Regions from separate parts of the Homo sapiens genome. Here region 2 is linked to region 1. Evidence: promoter capture Hi-C in human tissues and cell types (Jung and others, 2019). All regions are on one chromosome and are shown on one strand. Each heading gives the region's core, a stretch centred on a gene start or on the middle of the fragment in contact. The rest is flanking DNA. Distances are from core to core; before and after follow the strand shown.

Region 1 (7,334 bases), core at 3,740-6,239:
TTTAGTGGTGATTTCTGAGATTTTAGTGCACCTGACACCTGAGCAGTGTACACTATACCCAATATGTAGTCTTTTGTCCCTCACCCCTCCCTCAACGTTCCCCCACTGAGTTCCCAAAGTCCATTATATCATTCTTGTGCCTTTGCATCCTCATAGCTTAGCTCCCACTTACAAGTGAGAACATATGCTATCTGGTTTTCCATTCCTGAGTTACTTTACTTAGAATAATGGCCTACAGCTCCAACCAGGTTGCTGCAAAAAGATGCTATTTCGCTTCCTTTTTTTTTTTTTTTTTTTTGAGACGGAGTCGCACTCTGTCGCCCAGGCTGGAGTACAGTGGCGCGATCTCGGCTCACTGCAAGCTCCGTCTCTCGGGTTCACACCATTCTCCTGCCTCAGCCTCCCAAGTAGCTGGGACTACAGGCGCCTGCCACCACGCTCGGCTAATTTTTTGTATTTTTAGTAGAGACAGGGTTTCACCTGGTTAGCCAGGATGGTCTCAATCTCCTGACCTCGTGATCCGCCCACCTCAGCTTCCCAAAGTACTGGGATTACAGGTGTGAGCCACAATGCCCAGCCTATTTCACTCCTTTTTATGGCTAAGTAGTATTCCATAAAGAGGTGTATATATACCACATTTTCTTTATCCACTCATAGGTTAGTAGGCACTCAGGTTGGTTCCATATCTTTGCAATTGTGAATTGTGCTGCTATAAGCATGCGTGTGCATGTGTCTTTTAGAAAATCAAAATTATATCAAGTATCTTCTCCAACCACAGTGGAATAAAACTAGAAATCCACTCCAAAAGGAACCCTCAAAATTATACAAATATATGGAAATTAATCTGTTCTTGAGTGATTTGGGGGTTAACAATAAAATCAAGATGGAAATTTAAAAATTCTTTGAAATGAATGATAATGACACAACTTCTCAAAACCTCTGTGATACAGCAAAAGTGGTAGTAAGAGGAAAGTTCATAGCATTAAATGCCTACATCAAAAACTCTGGAAGACCACAAATGCCTCAAGGTACCAGAGAAACAAAAACAAATTAAACTCAAACCCAGCAGAAGAGAAGAAATGAGAAAAATCAGAGCAGAACCAAATGAAATTGAAACAAACAACACAAAAGATCAATTAAAACAAAAAGTTGGGCCGGGCACAGTGGCTCATGCCTGTAATCCCAGCACTTTGAGAAGCCGAGGCGGGCAGATCACGAGGACAGGAGTTTGAGACCAGCCTGGCCAAAATGGTGAAACCTCATCTCTACTAAAAATACAAAAATTAGCTGGGTGCAGTGTTGCACGCCTATAGTCCCAGCTACTTGGGAGGCTGAGGCAGGAGAATCACTTGAACCCAGGAGGCGGAGGTTGCAGTGAGCTGAGATCATGCCACTGCACTCCAGCCTGGGCAACAGAGCAAGACTCCATCTCAAAAAAAAAAAAAAGCTGGTTCTTTGAAAAGATAAAATTGATAGACCATTAGCAAGATTAACCAAGAAAAGAGAGAAGATCCAAATAAGCTCTATTAGAAATGACACTGGAGACATTCTTTTCACTTTAAGTTCCTCCAGACCTCGCCTGGAGCCCTCTCTGGCATCAGGGACAGGAAGATTTGCAGAGCGCAGGGTGCTCAAGCCCACACATCCTTTGAGCCTTGAATGGTGGAAGAAAAAAGGCCTCATATTGGGTGAGAAACAGAGACAACTTGGGACAACAGTCACAGCTACCCACCTCCCCAGGCATCCGTGCCACTCCTCGCACTCCTCGCCCTCCTCAGGGCGTGCCGTCCACCACATTCACCAAGTACCTCAGATGCAGGATGGCCTTCAATGTGCACAGCTGCCCTTCGACCAACGCACTGTTGGGGCCGGGCGCAGTGGCTCACGCCTGTAATCCCAGCACTTTGGGAGGCTGAGGCGGGTGGATCGCTTGAGCTCAGGAGTTTGAGACCAGCCTGGGCAACATAGTAAAACCTGTCTCTACAAGAAATACACAGATTAGCCAGGTGTAGTAGCATGACCTGTAGTCCCAGCTACTCGGGAGGCTGAGGTGGGTGAATCACTTGAGTCCAGGTGGCAGAGGTTGCCGTGAATGGAGATTGCACCACTGCACTCCAGCCTGGACAACAGAGCAAGATCTTGTCTCAGAAAAACCCCAGAAAACAACAACAAAAAAACGCGCTATTGGGCTTATTTCTATTTTACGAAAATGAGGAACCTTGGTCACTGAGAGGTTAAGAATGGGTGTTGCCTCATGGGTGCTGTTGGCATGTGGGGCAGGGAACTCTGCTTTGCCAGCCAATGCCCCTCCCGCCCCAGGCACCCACCGGTCATTGAGACCAGCGCGATTGCCCTGATGCATGTGCAGACGCTCCCTCCGTTGGGGCAGAGCCACCCTTAGTAGAGAACCACTGGTAACCTGGGGAGGTTTCCTGGCTGCTACACTGCTGGGTCAGGACTCAAACCCACGTCCTTCTTAGCAGGTCTTTTCCCAGTCACAGCAGCCCAGCAGATCCAGGACACCTGGGCTGGAGAAGGAGGCAGGGGTCTGAGCTCTTCTTTCCCTGAGGTTCTTCCCCCTCCCGGCATCCTAGGGTGGCTGGGGGTCGCTGCCTTCTTGCTTCCCCACCCCCTGAGCCCCTTGTCCCTTCGCCCGACCCTGGCCCCCATTCCTTATTTTGATGTTGCCTTCCTGGAAAGGGAGGTGTCGTCAGAAGTCAGAATGTGAAGCCCCGGGCAGCCGAGGGCAGAGGCAGGGGTAGGCTTGTGAGGCCTCCTGTTCTGGGAAGAAAAGGGCATCATGAGCCCAAAATGGGGCTCAGGGCTGTTGTCACCAGTGAGGGAACAGCACGGCTCAAAATGTGACAAATAACCCTGCAGGCGGTGGGGCCCCCGCTGCCTCCGCCCCTCCTGAAAACAGATCCCTGCCCGGCATGAATGGGAATGAAGCCCAAAGGCCACATCTGCATCCTTGTCCACGGGATGTGTGTGTCTTCCCTCCCTGGAGTGGGAGCTGCTTCTCACTTGTTTTTTTAAATTTTTTATTTCAATATTTTCTGGGGTACAGGTAGTTTTTTTGGTTACCTGGATAAGTTCTTTAGTGGTGATTTCTGAGATTTTAGCGCACCTGTCACCTGAGGATGGGTGCCAACTGCCCCCCACCAACCTCCGTGCCCCCTACAGTCCGCTGAGCCCTAGGACCAGCTCCAGAGTAGGCCCCACACCACAGGGTCCAGGCAACACACCTGTGTGAGCATGCACATACACACACACACACACCCCCCACAAACACGTGTGCCCCAAGCCTTTCCCAGTTATACCCCCCAACTTTGGGGAGACACTAGCCCCAAAGTTAATGAAGGACTCTGTCGTTAGGGGCTCAGGAAGAGTATTTCCTAAACCATGAGACTCCCAGATTTTGCCCCACTCCCCCCGGGTCAGTCTCTCTCCAGCCACCCTCACCAGCATGCGGGCCCATGGGCCTCAAGCTGACCTCAGGTGATGTTTATATTTCTGAGCTGTTTATTCCATGAACTGAACATCTGACAGCTTTTCAGAGAAATGTTTTTTCATTTGGAACATCTGGAAACAAGAAAGAACATCTGGGGCTGCCCGGAACGGGCTGTTCCTCGGATGAAACCTTAACCCTCCTGCCCCTGACTTCCGTGGCTCAGGTCCTGGCCTGCACCCCTTGAGAGTGGCCCCCACCTTATCAGGTCCGAGGCCTAGGCCAAGATCTAAAGAGGGACCACCCAGACCCTCTGCCTTCCAACCATGGCATGGGAGGTGGTTCTGCTTCTCCCTAAATCCAGACAGACCTGCCCCAGCACAGACTGGAAAACGGAGGGTTGTGAGGAGAGTGAGAGGTGGACAGAGGGCACCGACGATTTAGCATCTCTTCCTCTCCTGGGGGTCGAGGATGAGAGACAAAAAAGAAGCTGCCAGGAAACATAAAATTCAGAGGGCTCAGCTGCAGGGCTGAGGTCTGCAAGCATGCTGTGTACACTTGTGCATGTTGTGCCCTGCACAAGGGCATCTCTGAAGGGGCTGCATTGGACCCAGGGGCAGGGGCGCAAAGGTGAGTTTATATCAGTTCCTGAGCACTGTGGCTCCATCCAGCACTCTGAGGACAGGCAGGATACAGCTGGAGGACCTGAGGGCTCCCCCACACCAGCTCCTGTTCCCTGCCCAAGACCCCCTGGACCTGCAGACAACAATTCAACGCACTCAGAGTCCCACAGTTAAGAACTCCCTGAAGAAGCCCCCAGTGGCTGCGTGGTGGATTTTCGCAAAGCTGTCTCCACCTACATCCACCCTGTTTGGCAGCCCCTACATACTCTTTCACAGCATGAGGAAGGGAGGCCTCTCACCAAGACCTGGACTGAATCTTCTCCCAGTGGCTGCCACACTTGACCTGCTCTTGCTCCAGAACCTCTGTGGCTCCCATCCTCCACAGGGTCAACTTCCAACATGGCTGCCTGCACTCCAGCCAAGAGGCTCTGCTCTGGGCCCCTCCAGATGCCTGACCTGGGTCTGTGGCTGCCCTGTCCTTCTTCAGTGCTCCTCTTCCCGCTGGGTGAGGAATAGTTCAGGACAGAGGAGCTAAGTTCAGGTTCATTCATAGGACAGGTGCCTATTTCGCTCACGGCCCAGGAATAGAGACTTGCCGGGCTCGGCCCTTCGGGGAGTTGGCAGACGGCAGAGGGGAGGCTGGCTGGCCCAGGGGATGACCACCGGTGGGGTAAGCACAGACAGAGGGGAGCACAGGCTTCCCCCAGAAGACTGAGAGGCCCCCCAGAGGCATCCACAGAGGACCCCAGCTGTGCTGCCCAAGCTGGGCGACCGCCAAACCTTAGCGGCCCAGCTGACAAAAGCCTGCCCTCCCCCAGGGTCCCCGGAGAGCTGGTGCCTCCCCTGGGTCCCAATTTGCATGGCAGGAAGGGGCCTGGTGAGGAAGAGGCGGGGAGGGGACAGGCTGCAGCCGGTGCAGTTACACGTTTTCCTCCAAGGAGCCTCGGACGTTGTCACGGGTTTGGGGTCGGGGACAGAGCGGTGACCATGGCCAGGCTGGCGTTGTCTCCTGTGCCCAGCCACTGGATGGTGGCGTTGCTGCTGCTGCTCTCAGGTACAGAACCCACGACGAGGCCTGTGGGGTTTGCTCTCATCTCCAGCTGTCTGGGCCCTGCGGCTCTGCCTCCTGCTTGCTCCACCCTCCTCCTCTGTCTCTCACTCTTTACCGCCTGTCTCCCTCTCATGGCCCTGGGGCCTGGGTCTGTGGGTGTCAGCTGCACGTGGTGATGGGCTCAGGAGCCTGTGGCCCCAGTTCCTCTCCTGCCTGGAGAGCATCAGGCTGAGCTGGGCATGAGGAGCAAACCAGAGTTAGCAACCAGGACCGTGGAAGAACTAGGCTCAGGAGGAAGAGAGGCTGAGGGCGGTGCCTGGGGGTCGGGAGGGGAGAGGCTGTCCCAACCGGACCCTGGAAGATGCAAGATCCAAATGTGGTCCCCTCCTCTGGGAGGTGAAAGATCCTCCGGGCTGTGACTTTCTTCCTGTCTCTCTTTAAAAAAAAAAAAAAAAAGAGAGACAGGGTGTCCCTATGTTGCCCAGGCTGGTCTCAAACTCCTGGACCCAAGCGATCCTCCTGTCTTGGCCTCTCAAAATACTGAGATTTCCCTGTCCCTCCTGTCTCATTCAGATGCCTGCTCAAAGCCACCATGAGGGTCAAAGGCAGAAAGGGGGCTGGGGGCAGGGCTTCCGGTACCCCCACCCCATATCTGTCTCCCAAGTACTGGGGGCAGGGAGGACCGAGGGGTCTTGAAGCTGCTGTCATGGAAGGAGGAAGTAGCTCCGGGAACATAGAGGGCATGCAGGGGTGGGGCAGCCCAGGCCAGAGGAGGCCCTGACTGGCCCCGCCCACTTCCTCCCACCCAGCAGCTGAGCCAGTACCAGCAGCCAGATCGGAGGACCGGTACCGGAATCCCAAAGGTCAGTAGCCTCGCCTGCCGCTTCTGAGGGCAAGTTGTGTGCGACTATGTCCTGTGTCCGACTATGGTCCCTGTCCTGGGGGCGGTCCGCCTTCCCACCCTTGCCTGATCTCCCCATCCAGGATTCCCATCCCCAGGCCTCCTTAGGATCTCCTCTGAGCCCCACCCCCAGCCCACTGTCATCCTCATCAGACACATGCCCTCCAGCCTTGGCCACTGAAGGGCTGGGCTAAACTCTGGGTCATAGCAAGGGAGCCTGGGGGTTCCTCTAGGACTCAGGCCCGGGCCTGTCTAGCTGGGAATCTGGCTGAGTCTCGGGTGAGCCCTCCAGTGCAGGGTCACTATGTGAGGGGCTCAGGGATTCCCGGGCAGTGCTCACTAAGAACAAGGCAGTCGAAGCTGGAAAGAGGGTTCTGGAACAAGAAGTGGACCCAGTCCCTGCAGGAGGGAAGAGGGGGATGATAGAGGGAAGTCATGCAGGGAGGGGGTCGACTGAGGAAGGTCTCAGTTGACAGACTAGGAATTTGGCCTTTATCCCTGGAGGAACGGGGGAGACTGAGGATTTCAAGCCTGTGCAGGGCAGCCCAGTGAAAGGAGGGGCCAGGCCTGTGGGCCTCCAGGTCCTGGGGGTGTGGCCTGGGTCAGGCTGTTGTAATGGGCATAGGAAGGAATGGCAAGGTCCCAGGGCTCTTCCAAAGGAAAATCGAAGGGGAGGTGGGGCAGTCGGGAAGAGGTGGAGTCTGAGAGCTTGGCCGTGGCTTCTCATGTGGCTCAGCCTCTCACGTGGCTCTGCTTCCCAACTCCAACCTCAGCCTCCTGCCTGTCCCACACCCTGAGAAGCAAGGACTAAGCCCAGGGAGTCTGTGCCAGCCAGGGCAGGGGCCTGCTGCTGGGGCTGGCACTCAGGAAGATGCCAAGCGGAATGCTGAGCCTGGCCTTGGCACCCACAGGTAGTGCTTGTTCGCGGATCTGGCAGAGCCCACGTTTCATAGCCAGGAAACGGGGCTTCACGGTGAAAATGCACTGCTACATGAACAGCGCCTCCGGCAATGTGAGCTGGCTCTGGAAGCAGGAGATGGACGAGAATCCCCAGCAGCTGAAGCTGGAAAAGGGCCGCATGGAAGAGTCCCAGAACGAATCTCTCGCCACCCTCACCATCCAAGGCATCCGGTTTGAGGACAATGGCATCTACTTCTGTCAGCAGAAGTGCAACAACACCTCGGAGGTCTACCAGGGCTGCGGCACAGAGCTGCGAGTCATGGGTGTGTGCCAGGTGGCTGGGACGCTCCTGTAGCTGTCCGCCCCACCCTAGCCCGGCCTGCCTCTTGTGGTGATGGTCATGGCCCTAGA
Region 2 (7,334 bases), core at 3,453-5,952, 280 kb before region 1:
GTTCAGGTATTTTAAGGCTTAAGATAGAAAATTGTTGGTAGAAATTAACCAGTTAAAAGGGAGGAAATGATTACTCAGGTGTTGTGAAGTAAGACAGATTGTATGGCATTTATAACATTGGTTATGTAGTTTGCTCATAAAAGAGAATGCCTAACTGGAATTTAGTGAAAATTAAACCATTAAACCCAATGAAGTGAAAAACGGTGGACATCTGCCAAGTAAAAGCATAATCACCACTTAAACAGCTTCATCTGTGCTCCTATCTGCGAATGACAGCGTCTCCTGTGGAGAAACTGCTCTCTGACTTCTGGTTTTCTCACTGTTTTCACAGAGCCTGAGCCCTTGTGAAGCCGGCAATGACAAGTCTGTATGGTCGCCATGCCGAGAAAACCACTGACATGCCAAAACCATCAGCCCCTAAAGTGCACGTGCAGAGGTCCGTGTCCCGAGATACCATCGCCATTCACTTCTCGGCATCCGGCGAGGAGGAGGAGGAAGAGGAGGAGGAGTTCAGGGAGTACTTTGAGGAGGGGCTGGATGACCAAAGCATTGTAACAGGGCTGGAAGCCAAGGAAGACCTCTATCTTGAACCCCAAGTTGGCCATGACCCCGCCGGCCCTGCTGCCTCGCCTGTCCTGGCAGATGGACTGTCCGTGTCCCAGGCCCCTGCCATTTTGCCCGTCTCCAAGAACACTGTAAAGCTGTTGGAGTCCCCTGTTCCAGCAGCACAAGTATTAAGTACAGTGCCATTGGCTGTGTCCCCAGGGTCGTCTTCGTCGGGGCCCTTAGCTAGCTCTCCCAGTGTGTCATCCCTTTCTGAGCAGAAAACCAGTTCTTCCTCCCCATTGTCCTCTCCTTCTAAGTCTCCCATCCTCTCATCCAGTGCCTCAACCTCCACCCTTTCCAGTGCAAAACCCTTCATGAGCCTTGTGAAGTCCCTGTCGACCGAGGTGGAGCCAAAAGAATCCCCACACCCCGCAAGGCACAGGCACTTGATGAAGACATTAGTCAAGTCTCTGTCCACGGACACTTCCCGGCAGGAGTCGGATACAGTGTCCTATAAGCCACCTGATTCCAAACTGAACTTACACCTGTTCAAGCAGTTCACACAGCCCCGAAACACAGGTGGAGATTCCAAAACTGCACCTTCTTCCCCACTGACTTCTCCCTCTGATACTCGTTCCTTTTTTAAAGTGCCCGAAATGGAGGCTAAAATTGAAGATACTAAACGACGCCTTTCAGAAGTCATCTATGAGCCTTTTCAGCTCCTTAGTAAAATTATAGGGGAAGAAAGTGGCAGCCATAGGCCCAAAGCCTTATCTTCAAGTGCTTCAGAACTCTCCAATCTGTCCAGCTTGAATGGGCACTTGGAAAGCAATAACAACTACAGCATCAAGGAGGAGGAGTGTGATTCTGAGGGGGATGGCTACGGAAGTGATTCCAACATCCCCAGAAGTGACCACCCAAAGTCCACTGGTGAGCCCACAAGAGAGATAGAACTGAAAAGTTCCCAGGGGAGCAGTCTGAAGGATTTAGGCCTGAAGACAAGTTCTCTAGTTCTGGAGAAATGTTCTTTGTCTGCCTTAGTGAGCAAAGAAGATGAAGAGTTTTGTGAACTGTACACTGAGGACTTCGATTTGGAAACGGAGGGGGAGAGTAAAGTTGATAAGCTCTCAGATATTCCTCTCAAGCCAGAGGTGCTCGCGGAAGATGGTGTGGTCCTTGACAGTGAGGACGAGGTGGACTCGGCCGTGCAGCACCCGGAATTGCCAGTGAAGACGTTGGGCTTCTTTATAATGTGTGTCTATGTGTACCTCATCCTCCCCCTCCCCCACTATGTGAGTGGACTCTTTCTGGGAATTGGCCTTGGATTCATGACTGCAGTTTGCGTGATTTGGTTTTTTACACCACCAAGTGCTCATAAATATCACAAGTTACACAAAAATCTGCGACACTGGAACACAAGATCTCTGGATATCAAAGAACCTGAAATACTGAAGGTAAGCCTCTCCCCGGGAGCTGGCTAGTACACACACTTCTCACATACAGCCGTATTTTAGATCTGACTTGTTTTTTGGTTAGCTGTTAAAGATTTTTGCACAGGCCGTGTTTTTTAAGAGCTTGGGGCCACTTCATTCTCCAGGCACCCAGTCAACTCATCTGGTAAACCTCATTCTAACCCAAGCTTTGCAGATTCACAAAGTAGTTTCTGAAAGATCTCTGTGACTCTAGAGAATAGTGTTTACATCAGTTCCTGTTCTGGTCTGTCTCTAAACTTACTTGGAATGTGCTACTTGCTGAGCATTTTTAATGGCTGAGTCTGTTAGGGTTCACTATTCTTGAGACCTTGAAGAAGGGTTAAATACTCCCGGAATTGCAAGAGGAGGGAAGGAAGAAGAGAAGGCAAATTAATGTCAGCTGTTGGCCCCTGCTGGTGCTCCTCTTTCCTTTGCACGGTGGGGAATGGGATGGAGAAAGATGTCATCTTTCACTGCATATCAGATGTCAGGCTTTTGGGCCTCCTGAGGGGTCCCTGGGACAATTCATTGGGAAGCAGGAAGAAACATTCATCTAGCTGTCTAATCTGTCGATTGAGACGGAGTCTCACTATGTTGCCTAGTGTGGTCTCAAACTTCTGGGCTCAAGTGATCCTCCTGCTTCAGCCTTCCAAAGTGCTGGGATTACAGGTGTGAGCCGCTGTGTCCAGCCTAGAACTTCTATTTATTATTATTTTTTTGCATATTAAAATTTCTGGTTATGTGTATACACACTATAAAAGTACAATTAGAACTTATATAGTTTGTAAGTTATATGCACACACACATTTATGTACAGTATCCAAGGGGGCATTGGTTTCAGGACCCCCCCCAAGGATACCAAAATCGATGAATGTTTCAGTCCCTTATGTAAAATGGCATAGTATTTGTATTAATATATAACCTATGCTCATTCTCCTGTATACTTTTAAATCATCTCTAGATTACTTATAATACCTAACATAATGTGAATGGTTATTATGCTGTATTTTTAAATTTGTATCTTTTTTACTGTTGGATTGTTATTATTTTTTTTAATTTCATATTTTCAATCCAAGGTTGATTGAATCCATGGATATAGAGGGCTGATTGTATATGTTTTTAGAGATAAGGTGGAAAGCCAGAAAAGTTTAGAGACCACTGCTTTATAAAAGTTATCTAATTCAGCTTCATAACCATCCAGGAGTTTGATGCTTCCAGTTTTACACATGAGGAGATTCAGGCTCTGAGAGAGGTGGTCATTGTCCAAGGTGTCTTGCTACTTAATAAGTAATAGAGGCTGGGCATGGTGGCTCACGCCTGTAATTCCAGCACTTTTGGAGGCTGAGGGAGGCAGATCACTTGAGGTCAGGAGTTCAAGACCAGCCTGGCCAACATGGTGAAACCCTGTCTCTACTAAAAATACAAAAATTAGCTGGGCTTGGTGGCGTGCACCTGTAATCTCAGCTACTTGGGAGGCTGAAGCAGGAGAATTGCTTGGGCCTGGGGGCTGAGGCTGCAGTGAGCTGAGATTGCGCCACTGCACTCCAGCCTGGGTGACAGAGTGAGACTCTGTCTCAAAAATAATAATAATAATAATAAAATAAGTAACAGAGGTAGGCTTTGGAGCCTTTGTGTGTCCTCTTCCTGCTTTTCCCATGACACCTCTCTGCAGAAGGTTCATGCCTAGACCTGCCTGGAGAATTCCTTGTGTTACAGGAGATGTATGAAAAGGAGAACTTCGTTTCCCTGGAGCAATTTTGAACCTTAATTATTGGTTTTAATCTTTAGCTTTTCAAATTCAAAGCTTGTTTGGCTTCTTAGTTAAATTAAAGGTATTATTCTCCCATCTATTTAAATGAGAATGCTCTAAAAATGGCAGCGTGATGTCCCTATTGCAAAAAAAAAAAAAAAAAAAAAAAAAGCTGGGGGTTGGGGAGAATTCTTTTAGGATCCAAAATAATATTTGTTTTTAAATTTCATTGACTTTTTTCCTTGTTCAAAGGAAATACATGGTTAATGTTTTAAAAACACAGGAAACCCAAAGAAAAAAAATTTTTTGATCACACTAGTGGAAGGGAATTACAGTTAATGATTTGGTATATATCCTAGTTTTTTGGGTTTTTAAAATTTCTGCATATATGAAGATATGCATCACATACATGCATACTCACCCACTCTTTTTGTTTTGATTTAATAGGATCATATATTTTGCAGTCTGACCTTTTTTCTTTCTTTCACATGGCAATATGTTATGACACTTTCTTCTTTAAGAGAAGCTGTGTTGAGTCTTGTGGATGTGACACCCTTAAGCTTAGCGTTAATAAATGAAGTGGAGCAAAAATGACTCACGCGTGGTTGCTGAGCTTTTTCTGATAGGGTGGTGCAGTGACTACCTGAAGTACGTGCTCTCCAAGTAAGTTCGTGCTAACTTTAGCAAGGAAAAATTGCGCTTATATTAACTCTAGTACCTAATGACTGACTGTGGCATTCAGTTTAAACTGGTTTGAGCACTGACTTGTCTTAGGAAGATTTTAATTTTAATCCAGTCAATCTTTAGTGTTTTTTTCCTACCCTCTTCTCAGATGTAAATTACTTAGTGTCAATCCAATCACTGTGATATGTCAAGAGTTTACTAACTACACAGGGTGCCGATGGAATGGGATTTTAATGTTATAGCACAGCCTGGTTGCTTTGATCTGATCACTGGAAGAATAAAGGCAACACTGTGATGCTGAGCACTGCAGTGGGCTAAGTGTTGGGTGTATTATCTCATTCAATCCTCGTCACAACCCTGTTCAGTTAGCGTATATGTGCTCATGCAGATGGAGGCCCACAGAAGTTAAGTTATTGCCCAAGGTCACACAGCTAGTGTGTGGTGGAGCCTTGTAGGACAGTGTTTTCTTTTAAGGAAGGTGTTTTGCCCACAGTGGCTAGGATAAACGTATTTGAATTTTCCTTGTAGAGAACAAGTACTTTAATGCTCTCATAGACTGACACCCCTAATCCAAGCAAACTGTCATAGACTAAGCATTTATTCTTCCTTATTGCTGTTTGGACAACTCTGATCACTTTGGTAATTCTTTTTTCATTCTTAGCCTTAACTTGTTTAGAATGGTTTCATTACTAAAGAGGAAAAGTATATTTTAGCCTGAAGTCTTTTGTTGGGTATGCGGTGTTGTTTTTAGAAACTGGGCTGAATGCATTCTCTATTTAGAAAAGGGACACTACTATGAATTAGAAGGATATGCTGTCTGTTACAAGCTAATTTCAAATGCAAATGTTCTTTGGACTTAGTTAATTTTACTGAATGGGAGATTATACTCTTGGGAACCGTTTTTAAACTATGGTACTTTAAAACATTTAGCAGCGTTGACATTAACTTTAGGACCCAAGTTTACTGTTATCTGTCTTCCCTAATATTCCATAAGCTTCATGAATGCATAGGCCCTGTCCATCTTGTTCATCTTGTATCCTCAGCACCTGCCACGTATTAGGTATGTGATAGGTAATTGTTGGCTGAATGGATGGGTAGATGAATGAAGGAGTGAGATTTTATCAGAAGATTTGAGCAGTGAGTTGGTATTGACCCTGTCATCTCCTGGTGATGTTGCTTTTTAAAAGAAATCCCTAGCTGGGCATGGTAGCCCACACCTGTAATCCCAGAGCTTTGGGAGGCTGAGGCAGAAGGATCACCTGAAGCCAGGAGTTTGAGACCAGCCTGGGCAACACAGCAAGATCCCATCTCTACAAAAAATTTAAAATAATTAGCCAGGTATGGTGGTGCATGCATGTGGTCCCAGCTACTCAGGAGGGTGAGGTGGGAGGATCACTTGAGTCCAGGAGTTTGAAGCTGCAGTGAGCCATGATAACACCACTGCACTCCAGCCTGGGTGACAGAATGAGACTCTGTCTCTAAAAAAATAAAATAAATCCTTGATGCTTGCTTTAAAAAAAATAGGGTTTAATAGGAGTGATCTTTTAAGAAAATGAAAATAATTACTAAAAAGTAAAGCTTTTGGTTGGGCGTGGTGGCTCACCCCTGTAATCCCAGCACTTTGGAAGGCCAAGGCAGAGGATTGCTTGAGGTCAGGAGTTCAAGACCAGCCTGGGCAACATAGTGGGACCACCATCTCTATAAAAGTTTTGTTTAAAAAGCCAGGTGTGGTGGCGCAGCTTGCAGTCCCAGCCACTCGAGAGGCTGAGGCAGGAAGATCGCTTGAGCTCAGGGGGTCAAGGCTGCACTGAGCCGTGATCATGCCACCGCACTCCAGCCTGGGCAATAGAGTGTGACCCTGTCTCAAAAAAACAAAACAAAAACAAAAACAAAAACAAAACAGTAAAGCTTTTCCTAAGCTTTTTTTCTGAAAGTGGACAAGCCAAGACAGTCCATCTTTAACAGGATTTGAAGCTTGACATTTGTTGCTTAGAAATCGACTGGTGACCCAAGTCTGCTCTCCTGTGACCAGTGCTCACGCAGTGCTGCCCTCCTGAATGCAAAGGGAGTAGTAGAAAGGCAAATACTGGCCGGGTGTGGTGGCTCACGCCTGTAATCCCAGCACTTTGGGAGGCTGAGGCGGGTGGATCACGAGGTCAGGAGATCGAGACCATCCTGGCTAACAGTGAAATCCTGTCTCTACTAAAAATACAAAAAAATTAGCTGGGCGTGGTGGCGGGTGCCTGTAGTCCCAGCTAGTCATGAGGCTGAGGCAGGAGAATGGCGTGAACCCGGGAGGCAGAGCTTGCAGTGAGCTGCGATCGCACCACTGCCCTCCAGCCTGAGTGACAGAGCGAGACTCCGTCTCAAAAAAAAAAAAGAAAAAAAAAAGGCAAATACTAAGTGGAGGATTGGAGAAGTGGGCAGTGATGAGTTCCAGATTTCCACTCTGCCTCCAGGTTGATGGCTTTAAAGTGATGTAGGAGATAGACCTTGGTTTCTTTATAAAACAGGCCTGTGAACTTGTTTCTAGGGCAAGCCAAAAGAGCCACTTATTGAAAATGTTTGATTTCAGGGGATAAGTGAGCTGGTTTGAATTATTTTGTGTACATCTGATCCAATTTAGTTGGTATTTACAGAAGATGGTGCAATTCTTGAGGGAAGGTACGGAAGCCTTTTTAAAAAGCTCACCAATATGGAAGACTATAATACCTGCCTGCGACCGAGATCTCCAAGACAGGCCCAGCCCAGGACCGAGATCCCGCATACTTTATGCCCTAAGAGGACTCCATATATGAGCTGTGAACCAGTCAGGCAGTGAGCTGGGTGCTCAGGGACTGTTTTAGGAGACCATGTGGTTTTGAACCTCTGAGCCGTATAAG

What was found. The method cuts DNA at HindIII sites, captures the fragments that hold promoters and counts their contacts. A contact is called where the count stands out against the background at its distance.
Region 2: a fragment that was not itself captured here is called in contact with the fragment with the promoter of CD79B in region 1 in 2 of the 25 tissues and cell types used here (adrenal gland and dorsolateral prefrontal cortex).

The regions. Positions count from the first base shown.
Region 1 is chr17:63,929,986-63,937,319 of GRCh38, reverse strand. It overlaps CD79B (CD79b molecule), which reads left to right and starts at 4,989. Exons shown (of 6, transcript NM_000626.4): 1 at 4,989-5,125; 2 at 5,935-5,985; 3 at 6,935-7,246. The coding sequence starts at 5,059. RefSeq lists enhancers at 3,334-3,738, 4,313-4,362, 4,373-4,482, 4,339-5,009, 4,983-5,372 and 2 more and a silencer at 6,070-6,139. The HindIII fragment of the contact is 19,928 bases long and covers 1-7,334 here.
Region 2 is chr17:64,207,240-64,214,573 of GRCh38, reverse strand. It overlaps TEX2 (testis expressed 2), which reads left to right. Exons shown (of 12, transcript NM_001288732.2): 2 at 332-2,000. The coding sequence starts at 357. Among named protein-coding and RNA genes, the nearest start is that of TEX2, 52 kb to the left of the region's middle. The HindIII fragment of the contact is 3,395 bases long and covers 3,005-6,399 here.